Linked DNA regions of Homo sapiens: region 2 is linked to region 1. Evidence: promoter capture Hi-C in human tissues and cell types (Jung and others, 2019). All regions are on one chromosome and are shown on one strand. The core of a region is centred on a gene start or on the middle of the fragment in contact, and the rest is flanking DNA. Distances in the headings are between cores, read along the strand shown. Region 1 holds the start of PHF13 (PHD finger protein 13). Region 2 overlaps DNAJC11 (DnaJ heat shock protein family (Hsp40) member C11).

What was found. Contacts are between HindIII fragments. The study calls those that stand out against the background at their distance.
Region 2: a fragment that was not itself captured here is called in contact with the fragment with the promoter of PHF13 in region 1 in 2 of the 25 tissues and cell types used here (heart right ventricle and ovary).

Annotation. Positions count from the first base shown.
Region 1 is chr1:6,611,093-6,617,007 of GRCh38, reverse strand. It overlaps PHF13 (PHD finger protein 13), which reads right to left and starts at 3,277. Exons shown (of 4, transcript NM_153812.3): 1 at 2,903-3,277; 2 at 150-251. The coding sequence starts at 2,941. LOC107984913 (a long non-coding RNA gene) reads left to right here and starts at 3,621. Exons shown (of 2, transcript XR_001737882.3): 1 at 3,621-4,316. RefSeq lists silencers at 2,089-2,548, 2,689-2,778, 2,949-3,728, 3,779-3,828. The HindIII fragment of the contact is 11,446 bases long and covers 1-5,915 here.
Region 2 is chr1:6,675,681-6,681,595 of GRCh38, reverse strand. DNAJC11 (DnaJ heat shock protein family (Hsp40) member C11) reads left to right here. Exons shown (of 16, transcript NM_018198.4): 2 at 559-688; 3 at 3,129-3,202. Among named protein-coding and RNA genes, the nearest start is that of DNAJC11, 23 kb to the left of the region's middle. The HindIII fragment of the contact is 5,628 bases long and covers 341-5,915 here.

The DNA.
Region 1 (5,915 bases), core at 2,028-4,527:
GATTTCTGCCAGACTAGTGACTGGGGTCACCACAAGCAGCCCCTTCCAAACCTACTGACCCTCTGACCAGTCAGAAGCCCACGAACTTGCGGTGGAGGCACTGGGTTTGACTACTCATCAAGAAAGGTCTCAGAAACTCAGAAGATTACCTCCTTCGGATAAGGGATGTAGCCAGCATAGGCCAAGACAAAGGTGCAGAATTTGTTGAAGTCTTCCACGGTCCTGCGCCTCTTGCAACTGGGGGAGTATTCCTATTAAGGGGAGAGAAAAGGGAATGTGTTTGAAGGAGAGGCTTCCAGGCGGAATCACAGAAACAAAAGGAAGTAAGCTGGAACTTTTGTAGTCAATCACTCAAAAAATACCGTTAGATTTACACAGTCCACAAACAAGATACGGTAAGTTCAGGTCAAGAAATAACACTATTTTCAGAGAGCAGAAAGAGGAGTATTAAGACTTTATGCCAAGAATGCTGGGAAATCAGCTGGGAGATAAAAACTTCTACAAAAGTCTATTTCTTAGTGCTCATGTGGCATTTTCTGACTTTATCTATTAGTTTCCACAGGCCTATCAGGCGAAGCTCTAATAACTACTTTTTTGCTACAGATTTTCCATTCTGAGTATGAACTGCTGCAGCAGCAGCTGGAACTGATGTATGTTAAGTGATTTCAAAAATCAACCACTCGCCGGGCGCGGTGGCTCTCGTCTGTAATCCCAGCACTTTGGGAGGCCGAGGCGGGCGGATCACGAGGTCAGGAGTTCGAGACCAGCCTGACCAACATGGTGAAACCCCGTCTCTACTAAAAATACAAAAATTAGCCGGGCGTGGTGGCGTGCACCTGTAGTCCCAACTACTCAGGAGGCTGAGGCAGGAGAATCGCGTGAACCCGGAGGCGGAGGTTACAGTGAGCCAAGATCGCGCCACTGCACTCCAGCCCGGTAGACAGAGCTAAGATTCCAACTCAAAAAAAAAAAAAAAAAAAAATCAACCACTCATTCTCCAGAGCTCTCGGAGACCTGGACCCTGGAGTTCACTCCTGGCTGACCCTGCCAAGCTAGCGCCACCTGAGGACCCCTCTCTCGTGCTCAGAGGGTCCCCTCCACTGTCCCAGCCAGTCGGGATGCCAGGCACCCAACTATCTCAACTCACAATAAACCAAGAACCTTACTGCGAAGCTTAGTCTTACATTTAAACGGAATAGTGGAGGTTTTTGCTCGCGGGTCCCAGCCCCATTCCATCTAGAAACACCCATCACAAAAAGATATTTTCTCCTGAGAGAAGCACGGAGAGATGGAGCTCTTATTTGCTCCTAAGCAAAACAAGTGTGCCGTATTGCTGTTTATTCGCCCGGCACGTTCCCTGAGGTTCCTTTCAGTGCCTTGTCCGACCCACCCCCATCCTTCCCGAGGTGCTGTTACCCGGCCGCCACTCTGCTGGGGGAGAGCCGGTGGGGAAATGGGGGGCAGGGGTCTCGGGCCGCCCCTCCCGCCGCGAGGAGCAGGCGTGCGGCCCGCGGGTTTTCTTTCGAGAAAGTCGGTGCCCTTAGAAAATTATTTTCTCAACCTGGTTCAAGCAAACCTTCTCCTCTCCCACCCCCTTGGACCCCAGGGCCGCCCACGGAGCGGAGGCGAAGGCCCGCGTTGACCGCGCTCCCCGCACTGGCGAGCCTGCCCAGCCACGGGAACCGCGGGCCGCCACCCGGGCCTCCAACTCCCGCGAAGAACTTTTCTTTCGGCGGGGAACCAGCAGAAGTGGGTCAAAAACCCGAATGCCAAGTGGAGGGCGGCGACGGCCTCGGGCCGGGGGCGCGCGGGAGGCACCGGCGCGGGGACTGGGGGTTCCACGCCGCCCCCACACGGCCCACGCCGCCCGCCCCCCCGGCCGCCTCCTCGGAAAGCAGATGGCGGAGCGGCCCCCACCCGCCCTCCCGCGGCAGCCGCCCCCCGCGACACTCGGCCCCCGAAGGTGCGGGGCCCATCCCGCGAGTATGTGTGAGGGGGGTGCGCCAGGCAGGATTCCGGGGTCCCAGGCCTGGGGAGGCCCTGCGAACCCCCGGGGGCGGCAGCGAGACCGGCGGGCTCCGGCGCCGCCTCCCCTCCCCCACCCGCCCGCGGTCGCCGGACCCGCACCCCCGACCCCAACGAGCCTCGGCTGGGGGGAGGGGACCGCGCGGGGGGGAGGCCGGGAGCCCCGAGGGCCGATCCCCGGAAGGAGGGGGAGTGAGCCGGGGCGGAGCCAGCAAAGCCCGCGGGCGGGGGGCGGGGGCCCGAAGAGAGAGGCCAGCGCGCCGGGGGGCGGTGGGTGGGGGCAGGACTCGGGTCCCCAGAGCGGGTGGGGCCCCCGGAGGACGCGGCCCCCGAGAGCCGTAGGGGGCGGGGGCCGACTGGGCCCCGCGCGGAGTCAGGGGGCGGGGCGCGGGCCACCGGGCCCGGGGGATCGGGGGAGCAGCCGGGGGCCTCGGGAGCCGACCCCGGTCCGAGGGGGGCCTAAAACTCCTCGAGAGCAACCGGAGCCAGGGGCGGGCGGCGGCTCGGACCGCGTCCCCGGGGGCGGGGAAAGAGTAAGCAGGCCGGCGGGGAGGGGCTGGGGGCGCCGACAGGTCCCAGGTCGACGCGAGGCCGGAGAGGGGCGGCCCGGGGGAGAGAAATAGGCGCAACGGCCCTGGGGAAAGGGCGCGGGGAGGACGCGGAGGTCCGCGGAGGGGACGCGGAGGCGAGGCCCGGCGGAGAGGACCGAGCGCGGGCCCGAGCAGGGGGCGGGGGTTGGGCTCCCGGGGGGGCCGACGAGGGGAAAGCGGGGGAAGGGGAGGGCGGCGCTCCGGGCGACCGGGGGTCTGGCTGCCTGAGGACGGCAGGATCGCGGAGGGGGTGGTCGGGGGCGATTCGGACGCACAGCTTCACTCACCTCCGGGTGGAAGGCGGCGGCGCAAGAGTCAGAGTCCATGTTCCGGGCGGGGGGCGGCGGCGGCTGCGAGAGTGCAGGAGCTGGGATGCTGGAGCGGGGCCGCCCGGGGCTGGGGGCTCGGGCGGCTGCGCAGGGCGAGGGCGGACCCGGGAGGGGTCGCCCGGGCTGGAGGTGATGGGGGGCTCAGCGCGTCGCTTCTCAAGCTCTGTGACCCCGGACTGGCGGTTCCACCGCCGACCGGAGTGGACGATGCAGCTCCCGCGGCGGTAGAGGCGGGAGAGTGGCTGCAGGGGGCGGCGGCGGCGGCGGTGAGCGGGAACCCGACCGGCTCCCCGACCTGACGCCCAGTTCGGCTCGTGTCTCGGGAGGGAGGGCGGGAGAGCCGGGAGGCCTGTCGGGAAATGTAGTCTGGGTGGCGACTGGAAGCCAGCGGCGAGGGGGCGTGGCGCGGGAGGCGGGCGCGGTGCCTTGTGGGAGTGGTAGTCCAAGGCCCCGCCAATACTGCGCACAAAGGAAACCTTGGGGACTCCAACCCCCATGAGGCTCCGCGGCGGCGGCCCCGGTGTGTGGAGGCGGGTCTTCTGGACTCGAGGCCGCGCGAGCGGGGGAGGTGCGGGGGCCCGCGCCGGCTCGGCCGCGGGGGGAGGGGCAGTGTGAGCGGTAGCGCCTTGGTCTCGGCGGGCGCGGGGGCGGGAGTCGCTGCGGCGGTGGGGGCGGGGCTGACGGCCCGGGTTGCGAAGGGCGGCGGCGGCTGGCACCTACCCTTCCTCGTCTCCTACTTGGGGTTCGCGCCCCTTTGTGGGGCGGGGGTCCCCGAGGCCTGGCCGGGAGTAGGGGCGGCAGGGGCGGGGACGCTGACGTCGCGGCCGCCCCGGGCATCGCTCCCCGCTCCCCGCTCCCCGCTGAGGGCGGAGTCGCCGCCCGGCCCCCGCTCCAGGCCGGGCTCAGCGAAGTTGTTTTCGCGGCTGCGGGCTTCGTGCGGCTCCCTGCTCCGGGCCCGCGGGGCCGGGACTGGACCGGGCTCTTCTCTAGGCATCTGCGGGATTCACTCGAGGTGGCCGGGTTCGTGCATTAAAAACACCGGGCCAGCGTTGTCAGTGTTCTAAAGAGGTGTGCGTTCAGTTTGCTTTCTGTTGCCGCCTAAGCCTAACCTTGGGACCGGCCGTTTTCCCACTCTCCTGAATATCCTCCGGCCCGCAGGGCGAGGCGGAGACGCGGTGTTTGGCGCTGGCATCGACTGGTACTTGTTTAGTGGTGTTTAACTGGGATGGGCAGTGTGTAAACGCTGGACCGCAGAGTATCCGACAGCTGTACGTGTGGAAGGCTGGCCGGACACGGTGGGGACTGCCCCTATGCGGTGACCAAAAGGCGGTCTGACGGGAACATTTTTAATATTCGAAAGTGGGGGAAAAAGGTAAGTACAAAACGCAGATGATTCAGTAACCTGTTTGGTAGCTTCGAAGAAGTTAAAGGGGAGTGACACAAAATTGAAAATTCAAATTAGAAAACGAACTCTTGGAGATACTAGTAAGATATTTGACAGGCGCCGAATGCTCCATCAAGCTGGCTGTTGCTATTTCAAGGGTTATGATCATTCTGATGAAGATATTTAATAGTTAGGAGATGGTGTTAATCTTAGAAATACTTCTCTGAGCGGCCGGGCGCGGTGGCTCGCGCCTGTATTCCCAGCACTTTGGGAGGCCGAGGCGGGTGGATCACGAGGTCAGGAGTTCGAAACCAGCCTGACCAACATGGTGAAACCCCGTCTTTACTAAAAATACAAAAATTAGATGGGCGTGGTGGCGGACACCTGTAATCCCAGCTACTCGGGAGGCTGAGGCGGGAGAATTGCTTGAACCCGGGAGGCGGAGCTTGCAGTGAGCCGAGATCGTGCCACTGCACTCCAGCCTGGGCGACAGAGCGAGACTCTGTCTCAAAAAAAAAAAAAAAAATACTTCTCTGAGCCTCAGTTTCCTAAGCTGTTAAATTTTAGCGTAGTGCCTGGCTAAATAAATGGTAGCTTACTGTTGTTGTTGTTGTTGTTGTTTTATTATTTCTGCAATATTGTAGCCCATTGGAGGGCTTCCCAAAGGTGATAAATTGAGGTACTTTACAAGATAAAACATGAAATTACTGATTAAAACAGAGACATTGGACTTGGCCCATCGAGACTTGATTAACAACTTCTTATACAATTGCACAGATGATTTAGCCAGATTTGGAATGTTACCTGGTTACTGTGACCAAAGCAGATGCCCCGAAGTTAGCCTGTATTGCCCAAGGTCATATTCACAAGGAGCAACTCGTTTTGCCAGAATAAGAAACACTGCTAAGGTGTTGATCCCGTTGGTAGTTTAAAAATGTAAATACCAAAAAGAATAATTCTTTTTTTTTTTGGAGACAGAATCTCCCTCTGTCGCCAGGCTGGAGTACAGTGGCGCCATCTCAGCTCACTGCAACCTCCACCTCCCGGGTTCAAGCGATTCTCCTGCCTCAGCCTCCCAAGTAGCCTGGACTACCAGCGCCCACCACCACGCCCAGCTAGTTTTTGTATTTTTAGTACAGACAGGGTTTCACCATGTTGGCCAGATGGTCTTGATCTCTTGACCTCGTGATCCGCACACCTAGGCCTCCCAAAGTGCAGGGATTACAGGCGTGAGCCACCGCGCCTGGCCAAGAATAATTATTAGAGGTGAAACCCAAGTGAAAGAAGAGGGATTTTTTTTTTTACACCTCATTATTATCCCCTGTGGTAAATGTGTCACATAATAAACATTAAATCCTTTCCCACACACACACATATTAAGAAATTATCGGGCCAGGCACGGTGGCTCACACCTGTAATCCTAGCACTTTGGGAGGCCGAGGCAGGCAGATCACCTGAGGTCAGGAGTTCGAGACCAGCCTGACCGACATGGGTCAGGGAGGTGGAGGTTGCAGTGAGCCGAGATCACGCCATTGCACTCCAGCCTGGGCAACAAGAGCGAAACTCCATCTCAAAAAAAGAAAGAAT
Region 2 (5,915 bases), core at 1,905-4,404, 65 kb before region 1:
TTTGGGGAGGGTTGGTTACTACAGGTTAGGGAAGCATTTCTGCCACTGAATGTGCTGCCTTCTGGAATTAGAGGTTGCATTCGAGTGCACGTGGGCCTTACAAGTTTGTCTTTGAATTTCAAGGATTCATGTTCGTTATGTCATTAAATTGATGTCATTTCTGTCTAATGGTATATAGCTTTTCTTTGCCTGAACCTGTTCTGTTTAGAGTGCCTTGGCATGATTTACTTCAAATAAGTTAAAGAGTTAGCACGTCTCTGTGACATTTTTGTTTCAGCTCAGAGCACACTGAGCCATTCCAGAGACCCAAACGTTCATTCATTGGATAGCAGCACTTCCCAGCAAAACCCAGTCCCTATTGATGTATGTAATTGATCACTTTATTAACTGGCAAAAAGAAGCCTTGTTGAGGTGATAAACCGAACTTCATTACATCCTGTATGTCGAGAGCAAACACATTGGGACGTGGCTGATGGGTTCCCATTTCAAGGCTGATTCTGATGATGATAATGTTTAAGTAGCATTGATTGTTCTCTAATTGAATTTTTCTTTCTTTAGGCCTCTTCTGAAGAGCTGAAAGCTGCCTACCGGAGGCTCTGTATGCTCTACCATCCAGACAAGCACAGAGACCCAGAGCTCAAGTCACAGGCGGAACGACTGTTTAACCTTGTTCACCAGGCTTATGAAGGTCAGTGGAGGGCCGGACTTTGTAGAAACATCCTGGTAACAGATATTCGATTTTTAGGAGGTGCGATTTGTAGAGGATAGAAAAAGAGAGTCCTTAGAGGTATATAAAACAGGTGGTTAGTTTAGTACTTTTCACTGACAGGGTCCTTTGAAAGAATAGTATTTTGCTTTGGAAATCAATACGTGTCCAGTAAGTAGAAAATGAGAGACCGGGCGAGGTAATAGACAGAGTCTCAATTGCAAGGGAATACTCAAGTTTTAAATCGTTTACCAGTTTTCTTCTAAAGGGAACTCTTATAGGTAAAAGGCTGATCGTTACAGGGAAGGTTTCTTTGTTCTCTTTTTTGTTAGAAGATACAAGGACATTTTTTCATCCAAAAGTGATTTTATTGGTTCTGAAGCAGTTATCGGTTGTAATAAAAGAAAGAAAATGATGTTAAGAAGGCTTATAGGAAATAGAACCAAGTGATTCACATTTTTATACTTATGTCTTATGTATGTCAGAAAGAACATTCTGTGATATATTTGTTTATAAAATATTAAAGTCACTACCAGATACAGAGCTTCTGTCTGGGATGGCAAAAAGTTCTGGAAATAGAGAGTGATGATGGTTACACAACATTGTAAATGTACTTCATGCTATTGAATTGTATACTTTAAAATGGTTAAAATGGTAAATATTATATGTATATTTTACCACCATTTTTAAAATTTAAATTAAAAAAAATGTTAAATCACTGTTATATACATCAACTACAATAAGTTATTTGTTCCAGAACCATCTGGTGATTTGCTCCTTAGACCAAAAATTAGATAATATGTTTCTTTATAAAATCATAAAGTCATCTCACTGTATACATAATAGCTTGTAGTGTTTTTCACTTTATAGTTTTACCAAAAAGTTAGATTTTAATGGCCAGTGAAAATCAGGCTGCAGTGTGTGATAAATGTGTACAGTCGGTGTAGTGTCATTACCAAATTTAACTGTATTCAGATCATTTGCATGGCGGTTGTGAAGAGTAGCCTGTTCTTTTTATTGTATTCTGTTATCTAAATGGGTGCATTAATTTTACTGTTGTCTAAATTAGCCACATAGTTTGCTTGTATTGTGTTGGAGACCTGGGGAAGAGTTAAAGAAAAACCCTACCAGTGCTAGTGAAAGTGCCACAACAGCAGACCTGGCCTCATGTTTAGCTTAAAGGGAGACTCAGGTAAAATAGTGAATGAATAATTCCTTATTAAATGCTGGAGAGGAACACAAGTTTGGCTCCTGTGTTTTCCAGGGGCCAGCATTTCTTCCTTTCCCGTTAGATTTGATTATGCATAGTATCATTTATGTGGTTTTTAAATTAGGCCTACAAATATATGGGAACTGTCAGGGGAGAAGAGACCCAAAGGTCTTGGCAGAAATTGGTGAAGCAGAGGGGGAAGAGAACAACCATTGGCCTTGCTGACATTTGAGTTCAGTTGGGATATCGTTCAGTTGGGATATCGTTTGAACAGCCCTCACCGTTAGCTGAGAAATCCTTTTCTGATGTATTTTGGGTGATGTGGCCAACAACATGATAAGAGATGTTTTTGTCTTTTAAAATTATTTACAAATAGAGAGGAGAAGTGCACAAAAGAAATGTAGCCTGTCTTTGGAGTTAACAGAACTCTATAGAGTAAATAACAAATCAGCTTTTTCTAGTATCTGAGCCTGTTTCTACTTTTATAGCAAGCTTCTTTAGAAACTGGAACCCACTCTTTCAAGTCAGTGTACTTTTATACACCGTGGCAGAAATTTACCAAATTATCTTAAAAACAACGTTCATGTCCTTTCCCAATGCAGGAGCCCGTGCCACTTCCTGCATGGTGCACCTTGTACACCTTGTAGCTGTACCTTCCAATCAAGAGTAACTTGGACACTGGAAAATCTGACTTTTCTCATTTGTAGCCGCCTTTAAACATATCCTACATTAGCTGGGTGCAGTGGCTCACACCTGTAATCCCAACACTTTGCAAGGCCAAGGCAAGAGAATCATTTAAGGCCAGGAATTCGAGATCAGCCTAGGCAACATAGTGAGACCCCATCTCTACAAAAAATAAATTAGCTGGGCATGGTGGCACACACCTGTAATCCCAGCTGCTTGGGAAGCTAGAGCAGGAGGATTAGTTAAGCCCAGGAATTCAAGGCTGCAGTGAGCTATGATCTTACCATTGCACTCCAGCCAGGACAACAGAGAAGGACCCTGTCAGTCAATAAGTCAATAAACAAATCCTAGGTTGAATCGAAAAAGCAGTTGGGAGGAAAGATGTGTAGAAAATGAAAGGGGTCTCTAGGAAGATTGTGATCAGACAGGGAGAACAGGAGATGGGCTTACCTAATGATGTCAGTATTCTCAGGAAGGACTGAAGGTGAATTTTGTATTTTATAAACATGTTTAATTTTTAATTTGCAGTGCTTAGTGACCCCCAAACCAGGGCCATCTATGATATATATGGGAAGAGAGGACTGGAAATGGAAGGATGGGAGGTAAGAGAAACTGTGCGTCTGGTGTTCCAGAAAAGTCATTAAACAGTTACAGAACATCTCCCCAAAACCCTGCAATCTGTAATATTGTCTTTGGGAATATTTGAAACCATTAGAGCCCCCTTCCTTGCCCTGTATTTTTGTTTTAGAGGTTGAGTTTTGGACTTGGCTTTGCCACTTTGTAACTCTGAACTTGGGCCAGCCACTCATCTGACTTGTCCTTCGTTCCCTAACCTGTCAAGTAAAACGGAAGAGGGATGGACCGAACCAGTAATTTTTAACCCAGGTGTGGGGCGGGAGCAAGCGGAGCAGGGGGTTGATGGGAGACGATTTCTTCAAGGGTGCAGTTCTGTCTCCATATACACTCCCTTCCACCCTCCACAGTTCTGTGCCTCTCTCTCCACCTCAGTTCTGAATAATTGCTGTGAGGAAATATTTCAGATGGGAGTATGTTATGCACGTGAGCAAAATGGAAGCAGAGTTGCTGGGGTTGCATTGCCTGTAATGACCCTTTCAATTCTCATGTATTATAATATTCAAGCTTTGTCAAATGTGATGAGTGAAACAAAATATATAGCAAATGTGTCGCCCTGGGCAGCCATGCTGTGGGAGAGCAGTCACTAAAATCCAGACAATTTGTTTGCTTTCACACTGCCACTGACTAGCAGTAGAGTCTTGGGCAAGTCATTGGGCTACTAGTGCTTCCATGTTACTATCTGAAAAATGAATATGAAGATTAGTTGTGAAACCCTTAAGTTGCTACAGGGATATATAGGTATCATTAAAGAAACTTTGTTCTGACCCAGGCAAAGTGGCTCACACCTGTAATCCTAACACTCTGGGGAGCCAGGCTGGGAGGATCACATGAGGCCAGGAGTTCGAGACCAGCCTGAGAAACATAGCAAGACCCTGTCTCTACAAAACATTTTTTTAAAAATTAGTCGGGCTTGGTGGCGCACACCTGTATTCCCAGCTATTCAGGAGGCTGAGATGGGAGAATCACTTGAGCACAGGAGGTTGAGGCTGCAGTGAGCTATGATCACGCCACTACACTCTAACGTGGGCAACAGAGCAAGACCCTGTCTCACAAAAAAAAGAAAGAAACTTGGTTCTGATGCCCAATAAATTTTGCTAGTCTGTTTAATAACATTGAATTGACCCTCGTTGAGTTATATTTTCACCATCATGTAAGATTACCCTTGAAGTTCCTTCGTTTTTTTTGTTTTTTTTTTTTTTTTGAGACCAAGTTTTGCTCTTGTTGCCCAGGCTGGAGTGCAGTGGCGCAATCTTGGCTCACTGCAACAAGTGATTCTCCTGCCTCAGCCTTCCTGAGTAGCTGGGATTACAAGGCATGCGCCACTACACCCAGCTAATTTTGTATTTGTAGTAGAGACAGGGTTTCTCCATGTTGGTCAGGCTGGTCTCGAACTCCTGACCTCAGACGATCCACCCACCTCGGCCTCCCAAAGTGCTGGGATTACAGGCATGAGCCACCACACCTGGCCAAAGTTCATTCAATGTTTAGTCTCAAGCATGCGTGCCTGTCTCTTCCAGTTCTGGCATCAAAGCCTTGTAAAGGCCTTCAGATGAGGAGTGGAAGAAAAGCAAAAGAGGATCCTATTTCCTTTCCTGCCTTTCCACTACTGCTTCATATTGGTGGCTCATGGGCCATATTCCACTAATAGCCTTTTTTGGTGTGTGTGTGTGTTTGTGAGAGAGAGTGCGCGCGTGCTCTGTCGCCCAGGCTGCAGTGTGTTGGTGCCATCATGGCTCACTGCACCCTCGACCTCCCAGGCTCAAGTGAGTCTCCTACCTCAGCCTCCCAAGTAGCTGCGACTACAGGCACACACCACCATGCCTAGCTAATTTTTAAATTTTTTGTAGAGATGGGGTCTTTCTATGTTGCCCAGGCTGGTCTCAAACTCCTAGCCTGAAGCTACCCTCCCCCCTCAGCCTCCCAAAGCGCCGGGATTACAGGTGTGAGCCACCGCACCCAGCCTGTTGCCATTTTTTGATTGCCTCACACAGTGAATTCTAGTTGCTAACATTTCAACCCTGGGAGGTTCTGCATGATAATTCAGTCTTCTGTCTTTTCTTGAAACATCTGAAGATCTGGTAACAGTGGATCTGAGGAGCCCTTGCCCTTCAGATGGGGCTGGGCTGTCCAATTTGTCCCAGTCCCCACCACTCCCCCTTGCGTTATGTCTGGCTCTTCTCATCTGCATGTCCTCCTGGCTCCAGTGGGCAGTTGGTATTTGGCCTCTGGCTTGATGGGAATAGCAGTGCTTCCTGTCACATTGGTTCATTGCAGCTAGGTATTAAGCCAAATAACTTAGCATTTTCTCATCCAAAAAGGAAAGTAGAATTCTGTTGTATTTATTCAATTTCCCCGTCACTCTTTATACACTCCTTAAAGCTTCTTTGTTTTTTTAAGATGTGGGTTGGCTACAATTTTTCAAGTCAGCAATTGGAGTCACTGAAAAGCTGTAGGACCCCATTACATATTCCCTCTTCAAAGACTAGGTTTTTAGTCCCCAGCAGCATTATCCCAATCAGTGGAGCACTGGGGTCTGCTGGTAGAATATTGTATGGCTTCCTCTCATCAGACCAGATTATCTTCCCATTAGAAACAAAGCAAATCCACACGCAAAATGGTGGTTATACAAATATATAGGGCTGGGTGCAGTGGCTCACACCTGTAATTCCAGCAGTTTCA